Regions from separate parts of the Homo sapiens genome. Here all the other regions are linked to region 2. The links are contacts of gene promoters, found by promoter capture Hi-C in human tissues and cell types (Jung and others, 2019). All regions are on one chromosome and are shown on one strand. Each heading gives the region's core, a stretch centred on a gene start or on the middle of the fragment in contact. The rest is flanking DNA. Distances are from core to core; before and after follow the strand shown. Region 1 overlaps CD38 (CD38 molecule). Region 2 holds the start of FGFBP1 (fibroblast growth factor binding protein 1). Region 3 has its middle 10 kb from the start of BST1.

Evidence for each region. The method cuts DNA at HindIII sites, captures the fragments that hold promoters and counts their contacts. A contact is called where the count stands out against the background at its distance.
Region 1: a fragment that was not itself captured here is called in contact with the fragment with the promoter of FGFBP1 in region 2 in 1 of the 25 tissues and cell types used here (mesendoderm cells).
Region 3: a contact is called between a fragment that was not itself captured here and the fragment with the promoter of FGFBP1 in region 2, in 2 of the 25 tissues and cell types used here (bladder and liver).

What each region holds. Positions count from the first base shown.
Region 1 is chr4:15,800,872-15,804,708 of GRCh38, forward strand. All of the region lies in intron 1 of CD38 (CD38 molecule), which reads left to right. Among named protein-coding and RNA genes, the nearest start is that of CD38, 24 kb to the left of the region's middle. The HindIII fragment of the contact is 3,995 bases long and covers 540-3,837 here.
Region 2 is chr4:15,937,323-15,941,203 of GRCh38, forward strand. FGFBP1 (fibroblast growth factor binding protein 1) reads right to left here and starts at 1,418. Exons shown (of 3, transcript NM_005130.5): 1 at 1,365-1,418; 2 at 929-1,149. The HindIII fragment of the contact is 13,154 bases long and covers 1-3,881 here.
Region 3 is chr4:15,690,884-15,694,724 of GRCh38, forward strand. No RefSeq gene overlaps it. Among named protein-coding and RNA genes, the nearest start is that of BST1, 10 kb to the right of the region's middle. The HindIII fragment of the contact is 5,285 bases long and covers 1-3,841 here.

The DNA.
Region 1 (3,837 bases), core at 1,287-3,786, 140 kb before region 2:
ACCTCAGGAAACTATAAAAGCAAAACAACAACAACAAAACCCCCAAACTCCAAATTAGTAGAAGGAAGTAAATAATAAAGATCAGAACAGAAATAAATGAAATAGGTTGGAAAAGTAATACAAAAGATCAACAAAATGAAAAGTTGTTTTTTAAAAAAAATTGACTAAGCATTACCTAGACTAACTAAGAAAAAAGAGGGAAGAACCAAATAAATGAAAAAGGAGATGTTACAATTGATACCACAAAAATATAAAGGATCGTAAGAGACTATTATGAACACCAATAAATTGGAAAGCCCAGAGGAGATGGATAAATTTCTGGGCACCTACAACCTACCAAGATTGAACCAGGATGAGATACAAAATCCGAATAGACCAATAACAATTATTGAGGAACCTCAATAATAATTTTTATTAAACAACAATAAAAAGTTTCCCAATTAAAAAAAAAAGCTCAGGACTGGATGGCTTTACTGCTGGATTCTACCAAACTTTGAAAAATAACTACCAATTCTTCTCAAACTATTCCAAAAAATTGAAGGGAAGAGAATTCTTCCAAACTCATTCTATAAGGCCAGAATTAACCTGATACAAAACCAGACAAGGATACAACAACAAAAAAAGAATTTTGCAGGCCAGTATCCCTGATGAACATAAATGGAAAGTTCCTCAACAAAATACTAGCAAACTGAATCCAACAGCACATTAATAAGTTTATTTACTAAAACCAGGTGGGATTCATTCCAGGGATGCAAGAGTGGTTCAACATATGCAAATCAACAAACATAATACATCCCATCAACGGAATGAAGGACAAAAATCATATGATCACCACAATAGATGCAGAAAAACAGTTGATAAAATTCAACATCCCTCCATGATAAAAACTCTCAAACAATTAGGTTTAGAAGAAGGAACACACTTCATCTTAATAAAGGCCATATATGACAAATCCACAGCTAATATTGTACCAAACAGGGAAATGTTGGAAGTTTTTTCTCTAAAAACTGGAACAAGATAAGGATGCTTACCCTCACTACTCTGATTCCACATAGTACTGGAAGTTCTAGCCAGAGCAATTAGGCAACAGAAAGAAATAAAAGACATCCAAATTTGGAAGGAATAAGTCAAATTGACCATGTTTGCAGATGACATCCTCTTACCTACAGAAAAATCTAAAGACTCCACCAAAAAACTCTTAGAATTGATATACAAATTCAGTAAAGTTGTGAGATACAAAATCAACATACAAAAATCAGTAGCATTTCTATACACCAATAATAAACTATCTGTAAAAGGAACCCCACTTACAATAGCTACCCCCCAAAAAAAACCTCCACCTAGGAGTAAATTTAACCAAAGAGGTGAAAGATCTCTAGAATAAAGACTACAGAACACTAATAAAAGAAATTGAAGAGGACATAAAAAATTGGATAGATATCCCATGTTCATGGATTGGAAAAATTAATATTGTTAAGATTCCATACTACCCAAAGGAATCTACAGATTCAGTGCAATCTCTATCGAATTTTCAATGGCATTTTTCACAGAAATGGAAAAAAAGATTCTTAAATTTGTTAGGAACCATAAAAGACCCCAAATAGCCAAAGCAATTGTTTGTTTTATTTTATTTTATTTTATTTTATTTTATTTTATTTTATTTTATTTTATTTTATTTTATTTCACTTCATTTCATTTTATTTTTGAGACAGTCTCCCTCTGTCACACAGGTTGGAGTGCAGTTGCATGATCTCAGCTCACTGCAATCTCTCCCTCCTGGGTTCAAGCAATTCTCCTGCTTCAGCCACCTCAGTAGCTAGAATTACAGACATGCACTACCATGCCCTATTTTTAGTAGAGATAGGGTTTCACCATGTTGGCCAGGCTGGTCTCAAACTCCTGACCTCAAGTGATCCACCTGCCTCAGCCTCCCAAAGTGCTGGTATTACAGGCATGAGCCTCTGCTCCTAGCCAAGCCAAAGCAATTCTGAGCAAAAAGAACTGGAGGGATCACACTACTTTACTTTAAAATATAATACTATAGTAAAACAGCATTGTATTGGCATTAAAGCAACACATAAATCAATGGAACAGAATAGAGAACCCAGAAATAAATTCACATATTTATGGCCTATTGATTTTCTGCAACAGCACTAAGAACATAAACTGAAGAAAGGACACCTTTTTCAATAAATATTGCTGGGGAAACTGGATATTCATATGCAGAAGAATGAAACTAGAGCCCCATCTATCATAATATAAAAAAGTAACTCAAAACGAATCAAAGACTTAAGTGTAAGACCCCAAATTATGAAACTACTAAGAGAAAACATAAGGAAAATGTTCTGAGCAAAGATTTTATGGATAAGACCTCCAAAACACAGTCAACAAAGGCAAAAATAGACTAATGGGATTACATCAAACTAAACATTTCTGTGCAGCAAAGTAAACAATCAACAGAGTCATGTGACAAACTACAGAATGGGATAAAATATTTGCAAACGGTTTCTCTGACAAGGAATTAATATCTAGAATATACAAGGAACTTAACAGCAAAAAGCCAAATAATCTGATTTTTAAAATCGGCAATTGATCTGAACAGACGTTTCTCAAAAGAAGACATAAAATGGCCACTAAGTATTTGAAACAGTGCTCTATGTGACTAATGATTAGGGAAATGCAAATCAAAATCACAGTGAGATATTATCTCACGCCAGCTAGAATGGCTATCATCAAAAAGAAGAAAAAATAACAAAGCTAGCAAGAATGCAGATAAAAGGAAACTTAAAACATTTCAGCTTTTACTTTAGATTCAGGGGTTACATGTGCAGGTGTATTGCATGATGTTGAGGTTTCAGAATATGATTGAACCCATCTCCCAGGTGGTGAGCATAGTACCCAATATGTGGTTTTGCAACCCTTCCTTCCTCCTTCCCTCCCTCCTCTTATACTCCCCAGTGCCTAGCATTCCTATTTTTATGTCCATGCGTACCCAATGTTTAGCTCCCACTTATAAGTGAGAAATGTAGTATTTGGTTTTCTGTTTCTGCGTTAACTTGTTTAGGATAATGGCCTCCAGCTGCATTCATGTTGCTGCAAAATACATGATTTCATTCTTCTTTTTGTGGCTGCATGGTATTCCATGGTGTATACATACCACCACATTTTCTTTATCCAATCTGCCATTATTGGGCATCTAGGTTGATTCCATGTCTTTGCTACTGTGAATAGTGCTGTAATGAACATATAAGTGCATGTCTTTTTTTTGGTAGAACAATTTATTTTCCTGTGGGCCATATACCCAGTAGTGGGATTTCTGGGTTGAATGGTAATTCAGTTTTTATTAATAGTTCTTTAAGAAATCTCCAAAGTGATATTCACAGCGGTTGAACTAATTTACATTCCCACCAACAGTGTATAAGCGACAAAGAAAATTCTCACACATTGTTGGTAGGAATGTAAATTAGTACAGCTATTATGGAAAGCAGTGTGGAAGTTCCTTAACAGGCTAAAAATAGAACTACCATATGATCCAGTAATCTCGCTACTGGACCTATATCCAAAGAAAATAAAATCATATGTCGAAGAGATACCTGCACTCCCATCTTTACTGTAGTTTCATTTATAATAATGAAGATATGGAATCCACCGAAGTGTCTATCAACAGATGAAGAGATAAAGAAAATGTGGGATATATAGACAATGGAATGCAGCCATAAAAGAGAATGAAATCCTATCATTGGTGGCAACATGGATGAGCCTGGAGGACATTATGTTAAGTGATATAAGCCAGGCACAGAAAGACAAGTTTCATATATTCTCACTTACATGTGGGAG
Region 2 (3,881 bases), core at 168-2,667:
AGCTTTTTGTGGGGAAGTAAGAGTTTAAGGAAAGGTGTGAGGTGGGGTGGTTGTCTGATTTGCCTGGGCAAAGTGAATCAGGGTGGAGAGAGGTGAATTTCAACCAGATAGTTCACACTACAAGATCGAAGACAAGGATCATGAGAAATCATTGAATCAATAGGATGAACACCAACGTCACACTGAACTGCATGAATCTGATCATGTGTACAATAAAAACCCATGCTTAACAGAAGAAGAGAAGTCAGTTTCTATATGACACCTCCTGTGTGCTAAGTACTGGTCTAGGGTTTGATTCCCACCTTGTGAAATCCACACAAGAGCTCTTCCAGGTAGCTATTAATATGTCATCCCAGGTGACAGCTCTGACTCTTAAGGCTCAGACAGGTAAGTAAATTGCTCAGGATCTCATAGTGGGCAAGTTCAAAGCTGGTATGGGTAGCCAGATCAATCTCCTTATTCCTTTCTGTCACCCCTGGTTGATCACTTTTTGCTTTTCACATTTACTCTGCCCTTTAAAAACATTGCCAAAGAATAAGAAAAACAACTATGAACAATGACAATTTAGTTTCATATAACACATAATGATAAGATGATTTGTATTATTTGTGCTCCATTTAAAACAAAACACAGAATTTTTTATAAAAAGAGGCAGACCCAGGAAATGGTCCTGATCTGATTTCTACCCTAGAAGTTGGCCATCTTCTAGGGTTAAGAAGGAGAAAGACAATCACAAAAGGGCAGAGAACAGCAATAAATGGTGAAGAGGAGACTGGATATGCCAGAAAAACACCCAGTCATTTCTCACGGCCCTGGGGCTCAGCCCCCACCTGCCCATGATGGAATGCAGGCCCAAGGAACTCCAGGCCCTTGGTGGAGTGAGAAGTGGCAGCAGGTAATAAAGCTGTTAAAGGAGCGAGGCTCTTACCTTGTTCTGAGCACACGGATCCAGTGCAATCCCAGGCAGTGCGAGTGAATTGCAGGCTGCAGCTGTGTCAGGTAGAGTGCAAGGGGGGTAGACTATTCAACAGGAGCCAGGCTGACTGGGTTTTTATAACACTCACTGGGTTTTTACAACACTGTGGCACGTTACTCACAGCTCCTCCCAGCCACGCCCCTCCGAGGGAGCCGGTTCCTGCAGGGAAAGTGCTGGATGTAATCCAGTGAAAAGGGGGGTTACCTGCATGCCATCAAACGCTTCCTCTAGGCCCTTCCCTGTCCACCCTGTGGCCAGGATAGGAGGACAACTCAGCCTCACAGTGACCCTCCTTGATGGGGAGAGGACCCCAGCAGTGATGTCTATGGAGGAGTAAAATAACTATAATGACATGATCCGAGCTGCCAAACTACTGAGCCCATTTTACCTGAGTTCTCCTTTTCCCTCATCACATCCGCTCTAGTAGGGAGTGCAATGATTCCTCCCCTTTTACAAAAGCAGGAATTGGTTCTGGAGATATGTAAGAGCTTGTCCAAGTTCACAGAGGCAGGAAAAGGAACATCTCAAAATTAAAAGTGAGATTCTCTACATCCATGGTCTGATCTCTTCCTGCCTGCCACTCTCAATAAATCTTTGTTGAATGGGTGACTGAAGTTGCCGAAGTTTTCGTAGTGTCTGAGTTCCTTTTTCCATCTGAAGTTACTACATAAGCAGAGGATACCCTAATTCTAGAGGCAGGGAAATTTACATTAAAAATTCCCTCTTTTTTATCAGGGAATTCTACCAGGCTCTGAGAGGCTGGTAAAGAGGGAATTTTTAATATAAGATTACTGTTGTAAATACTTACCTTCAGGTCTCATTCAGAGAGCTCAGGCTGCCCTGCCTGCTACAGGCACAGTCCCACACCAGAATGACCCAGGTGGAATCCTGGCCACAGCATGTGTTTAGCTGAGTGCTATGCCCAAACCACTTAGCCTCTCCCATCATCCATTTGCAGTGTGCTGACAATAACAACGTCTCCTTTATAGCTGCATACTAAATTTTTACTGGGCTAAGCTGTTAACATAAAGTGGAGCAGAATCGTTTTGCCTCATGACAGGGTCTTAAGTTGTATACTTTGAAAACAGACATTTGTTATTTACATATGCAGCATTTAAAAAGAAACTCACTTCTACAGGGAAGATGTGGCCCTCATTATATATTATCACCTCACCTTTCATAGATTTTCAGAAGAAGAAATTGTTCACTTTTCCTTAATTCAGCCATAAGAAAACTATTGTTTAGTGTGATATTAAATGGCAACTGACTTTTGGGTTTGAGATAAGGCAATAGGGAGTGATGGGGACTGTGGCAAACTAGAGAGTCTCTGCCTCCATAGAGGTCAACACTCATCTCCAATTGACTGAGAAAATGCAGGGATTAGGCTCAGTATTGTCACACTGTCTGATTTTTAAAATGACATCCCCAAATCCAGATGTGTTTATATGAAATTGGTTGGCAGCTAATTAAAATTTTCTAAAAATAAAGCTGTAGCTCAACACTATGCAGGCCAAAACTTGTAACTGTGTTTGGATTTTATGAACGATCCACCTGTTTGAGAATTCCGTGGTCATAGCTATAGATGTTGACCAATTTACTCAGAGGCTCAGTCTCTGCATGAATCTGTTGGAAGAAGCCATTTCTGAAGCTGTGTGCCTCTCTCCTAAAATTGCCTCACCCAGGGGTCCGTCCTCACTATCCTCACAAACACCCCGCTGAGGCCCTGACCTCCACGAACAGGCTCTCTCATGCGGTATTTTGGAGGATTATTTGGACATAGGCAAGGCAAAGCTGCTTTGCTCAACAAGGGGAGTCTCCTACAAAATGGAAAATTCTACTTGATCCTTGGGAGGCAGGCAGATTCTTTCTGGAGGCAGATTGCAGTTGGAACACAAAACATATTTACAAGGAAACATGTGGACTCCGGGGTCTTTCTGGGAAGTGCTTCTCTGAGCTTTGCCAGGTAACACTGCACATTCCCCACTGGCTCCTTGTGGCCCTTCCCCTTCCTGTGACTCCCATCCCAGCGTCTGCTTTGCTCTTTCCCTTCTAGACTCAGCAGCACAGCATCAGAGCAGGCTGTGGGGCAGTCACCTCCTTGGCTCATCCTGCCCTTCCAACCTCATTTCCAGGTACTCACACGCAGACACATAAATACACATACACACTGACACACATACAAAGACACACACAAACACACACTGACACACTCAAACACACACAAACACACTCAAAGACACCACACTCATAGACACACAGAGACACACACATACTGACACCTAGACACATTCACACACATACTCATAGGCACACACACACAGAATCACACACAGTGACACTGACACACACACAGAGACAGACACACACACACATGCACACACACACTGCAATCTGGCCACACTGAAACCCTGTCCCACCATTTGCAGATACTCCATGCATGCGCCCACTTCCTGCCTTTGCCTCTGCTGTTCCCTGCACTTGGGATCCCCTTCCCTTCCTTCTCTGCCTGGCACACACCGCCTCATCCTTCAAGGCCAGGCTCCAATGCGAGCCCCTCTCTGTTGGTGTCATTGGCTCCTGACGCCCTGCATGCCACCCACATCTTTAAGAATGTCCACGGGGAGAAATGGCACACTTCCTCCAATGAGCTTACAGCGTGCCAGGCACTGTGCTAAGGCTGTTTCCCAAGCTTTCTTCGTATCTCCATGAACTAAGGAAACGATGTCCTTTTCCAGTGGCTCTGGGGAGACTGCAGAGGACATGGAGCCCCAGCCACGCAGTGCATAGCAGGTTCCAGTAACTTCAGGCCCCTCCACCTCCCCATGCTCCCAGCACTGAGGGGCTCTGTAATTCTTGGGGATGAGTACATAAAGGCCCATTGCACAAGAACCCCAGGAGGAAAGTC
Region 3 (3,841 bases), core at 221-2,720, 250 kb before region 2:
TTTCTGTGTGTCTCCTCTGTAAAATCTCTTTTACCATGTAAGGTAACATTCATGGGTTTCAGGCAGTAGGATGTAGACATCTTTGGGGAGGCCATTATTAAGCCTACTGTAGCACCCTCTGGTCCCCAAAGACTCATCCATCCCATGTGAAAAATACATTCACCCCTCCTAGGGTCCCCATAAATCTCAACCCATTATAGCATCAACTCAAGTCCAAATCTCATCTAAGTTTCATCAACTAAAAAGTCCCAAATCTCATATCTAAATTAGATATGGGTGCAGCTCTGAGTATAATCTACTCTGGGGCAAAATTTTTTATCTAAGGACCTATGAAACTAGAAAGCAAGTTCTGTGCTCTACAACAGTAGTGGGACAGAAATAGGGTAACATTCATAGATGTTCCCATTCAAAAAGGGAGAAAAAGCCAAAAAGAAGACACCAGCCAATTCCTTTCAAAGTCCCATGGACAAACTGCATTAGGTTACTAAGCCTGGGAATAGCTGTGGCTCCTGCACCTGCCCTCTGTACCTGGGGCTCCACCCTCAGAGCCATCTTTTTGGATGAGGAGTACCACATGTCTGCTACTAAATAGTTTTATTAGCCCATTTCCTGCTAGTAGAATTTAGGGAACTCGGTTGCCTTCTTTCATTTCAACCACTCTGTCCGTTTTAGTCCAATTTGACAGTGTTTCTATTGGTAAACAAAACATTGTGAGTCATAGGGATTCACTCCATTGAAAGAGGCTTCTCAACAGATGTTTCCTGAATAATCCTATCTCTAGTTGGGGCTTCTGCTGAGATTGGTTGAGGGGGTTTGTGAGTCACATGCCTCTTCAAAGAGCTCTGTGTATCTGAATACTGTAATCTTTTGTGCCTCCTAAGCAGTAGCAAAAGACTACCCACACTTACAAATAGTTAAGATAATAAATTTCATATTGTGTATATTTTACCACAATTTAAAATTCAAAAACTTTTTAAAAAAAGGATGTGCAGCCATATTGTTGGCTTTCTCGCCAGAGCATGTTTTCCTTACAGTGGATCTCTTAGCTTTGGCATCTTTTGCAATCTGGATAGGCTGAGAATTACTCAAATCATCAAATCATAGTTTCATTTTCTAACAGTTCTCTCAGTTTATCCCTTTTCTCTCTCATTTTTCTAAAAGTAACAAGAAAAATCCAAGTCAGACCTTCATCACTGCTTGGAAACTTCAACTATACAAGTTCATTGCTTAAAAGTTCTGTTTTCTTACAATTATAGGACACAATTCATCTAAGCTTTCTACCACTGTATAACAAGAACCCTCTTTCCTTTAGTTTCCAAAAATATGTTTCTCAATTTCTTGTGAGCCCTCACCAGCAGCACTTTTAACATCTATATTTCTACAGTTTATGGTGTGTTAAGATTTTCTCTAGTATGATACAGGTTTTCTCTACCATGCTGTTCACTTACTTCCAAGCCCTCATAACACCCGTATTTTTACTAACAGCCTATTCGAGCATATTTAGGCCTCTTCTATCATATTCCTAAGAATTCTTCCAGTCTCTCTACAGATTATCCAAATCCAAATTACTTCCATAATTTTAGTGTTTGTTACAGCAAAGTTGTCATAATTTGGGGCCAGAAAAATCTTTATCTTGATGACTGAACTCACCTATTCTCCAATCTTGCTTTTTCTTTGGGGTGCCTTCCTTGTGGACTCTGGTCAAGATTAAACAAGAATAATAGTCCTACTCCTGGTGATTCCCAAGTTCAACCTTACAAATGAAGGGGAAAAGGGGCAGAAAGAGTGATGGTTTCAGGTACCCTAATCTGTATTTGTTTCCTATTGCTGCTTTAGCAAATTGCCACATAGTGGCTTAAAGCAACATAAATTTATTCTTCTTTGGAGTCCAATGTATACTGGGCAAAAGTCGAGGTATCAGCAGGATTCATTCCATCTGGATTATTCAGGGAAGAATGTTTCCTTACCCTTCCAAGCTTCTGAAGTCTGCCTGCGTCCCCTGTCTTATGGCTCCTTCCTGCATCTTCAGAGCCAGCAGCATAATATCTTCAAGTATCTCTCTGCTTTTGCCATCACATTATTTTCTCTGTGTCTCTGATTTACCTGACTTCCTCCTGTAAGGACTCTTAAGATGACATTGGACTCATCCAGATCAGCCAGTATAATCTGCTCATCTCAAGATCCTTAATTTAATCACATCTGCAAAGGCCTTCTTACTATGTAAAGTAACGTATTCATAGGCTCCAGGGTTTAGGACATGGACATCTTTGCTGGCCTATTTTTCAGCCTTCCACAACGGACAATAAACACACAGAACATATTAGATAAGCATTCAAAACCATCAATGAGAGCACACTATGAAACACTATTCTAAGGCCTTTAAATGCATAATCTCTCTTCATTCTCTGGCAATCAAGAATTTTGGCCAAGAAAAGAAACACAGTTTTCAATAAGGAAGCTCAGAAATTATTGATAACTCATAATGATCAAGAGAACAAAGTGAAAATGCCTTAGCATTGTGCTCAATGGTTTTAAGATATGACCCTAACTTTCCTGTCCAATCTCCATCTGCAACCTGTTTACCAATCAAACTAAATTTTCAACTGTTTTCAGAAGCTCCATGGTTTTTCCTTTTCTGCCTTTGCTCAGGCAATTCGTTCCATCTGAAATCTCTTTTCCGCCAACTGTGTATATCAGCATACTACTATTTCTTCTAGAAATTTATGTAAGTGGAGTAATAAAGTTTGTGTTCTTTTACATCTAGCTTCTTTCATTCAGCATATTTTTAAAAGATTTGTCATTTTTTTGTATTGCTAAATAATACTCTATTATATGATGATGTTACAAGTTATTAATATATTGTTGTTGGACATTTGCATTGTTTACTGTTTTGAGTTACGAATTAAGCTTCTACAAACATGGGCACAAATCTTTGCATAGATGTATTTTCATTTTTCCTTTGGTAAATACCTAGGAATGGAATATCTTCTTTGGTGAGGCATTTGTTTAACTATTTTGCCAATTTTAAGATGTGGTTGTTTTTCTTATTTTTGAGTTTGTTGGATATAAAAAGCTCGAGGAATAAATGCTCGGTGCCGTGAAGTAAAACCAGCAGTCAGGCAAAAGTTTAATCCTGTCAGCAAGGCAATTGACTTCTGCAGAAGGGTGCCACTTGCATCAACTAAGATCGCAAGAGCACAGAGAACAAAGGAGACTGGGGGGTTTTTATATCCTTAACGCAATTCCTACTTCTGTGTCCCTCCCCCATGGGTAGGGTCAGACTGCACAATCTGAGCTGACCCTATTGGCTACTTGTACATATTTTTCTAAATATAAAAGGGGAGGGGGACGTGAGCTACAGAGGTGGAGCATGTGAGACGTGCAGTTTCAGGGACACAATGGGTGCAGGTAACCAAGGGAATAGATGTGAGTTATTGATTAGGGATGACAGAAAAGGGGTAGGCTGTTTTACAGTAACTAGGGACAAGGAGGAACAGGAAAGTTGAGTTTGAGAACAAAAGACAAGGAAGTTAGCAGGCTACATTTTTGAAGAGAAACTCAGAGAAATTCATTGTATCTTACAACTCCTCCCTTTTAAATTTTCTTATGATTTTTCTCTTCAAACTCTTTAACATGTCTTGGCTTTGCCGTTTGTTTTGATCTTCTAAAAGGAAAAGCTTACTTGAATAAGGTGGAGGAGAACTAAGGGAGGCTTTAGTAAGTGCTGTTTGTACAATCTTTTGTATTTGCCTATGGATGCATGGTATGACACATCACCTAACGAGTTCGTCTAGTACGATTGCAAGAGAAATAAGAATTGAGGCTATGTTTCCTTTATATT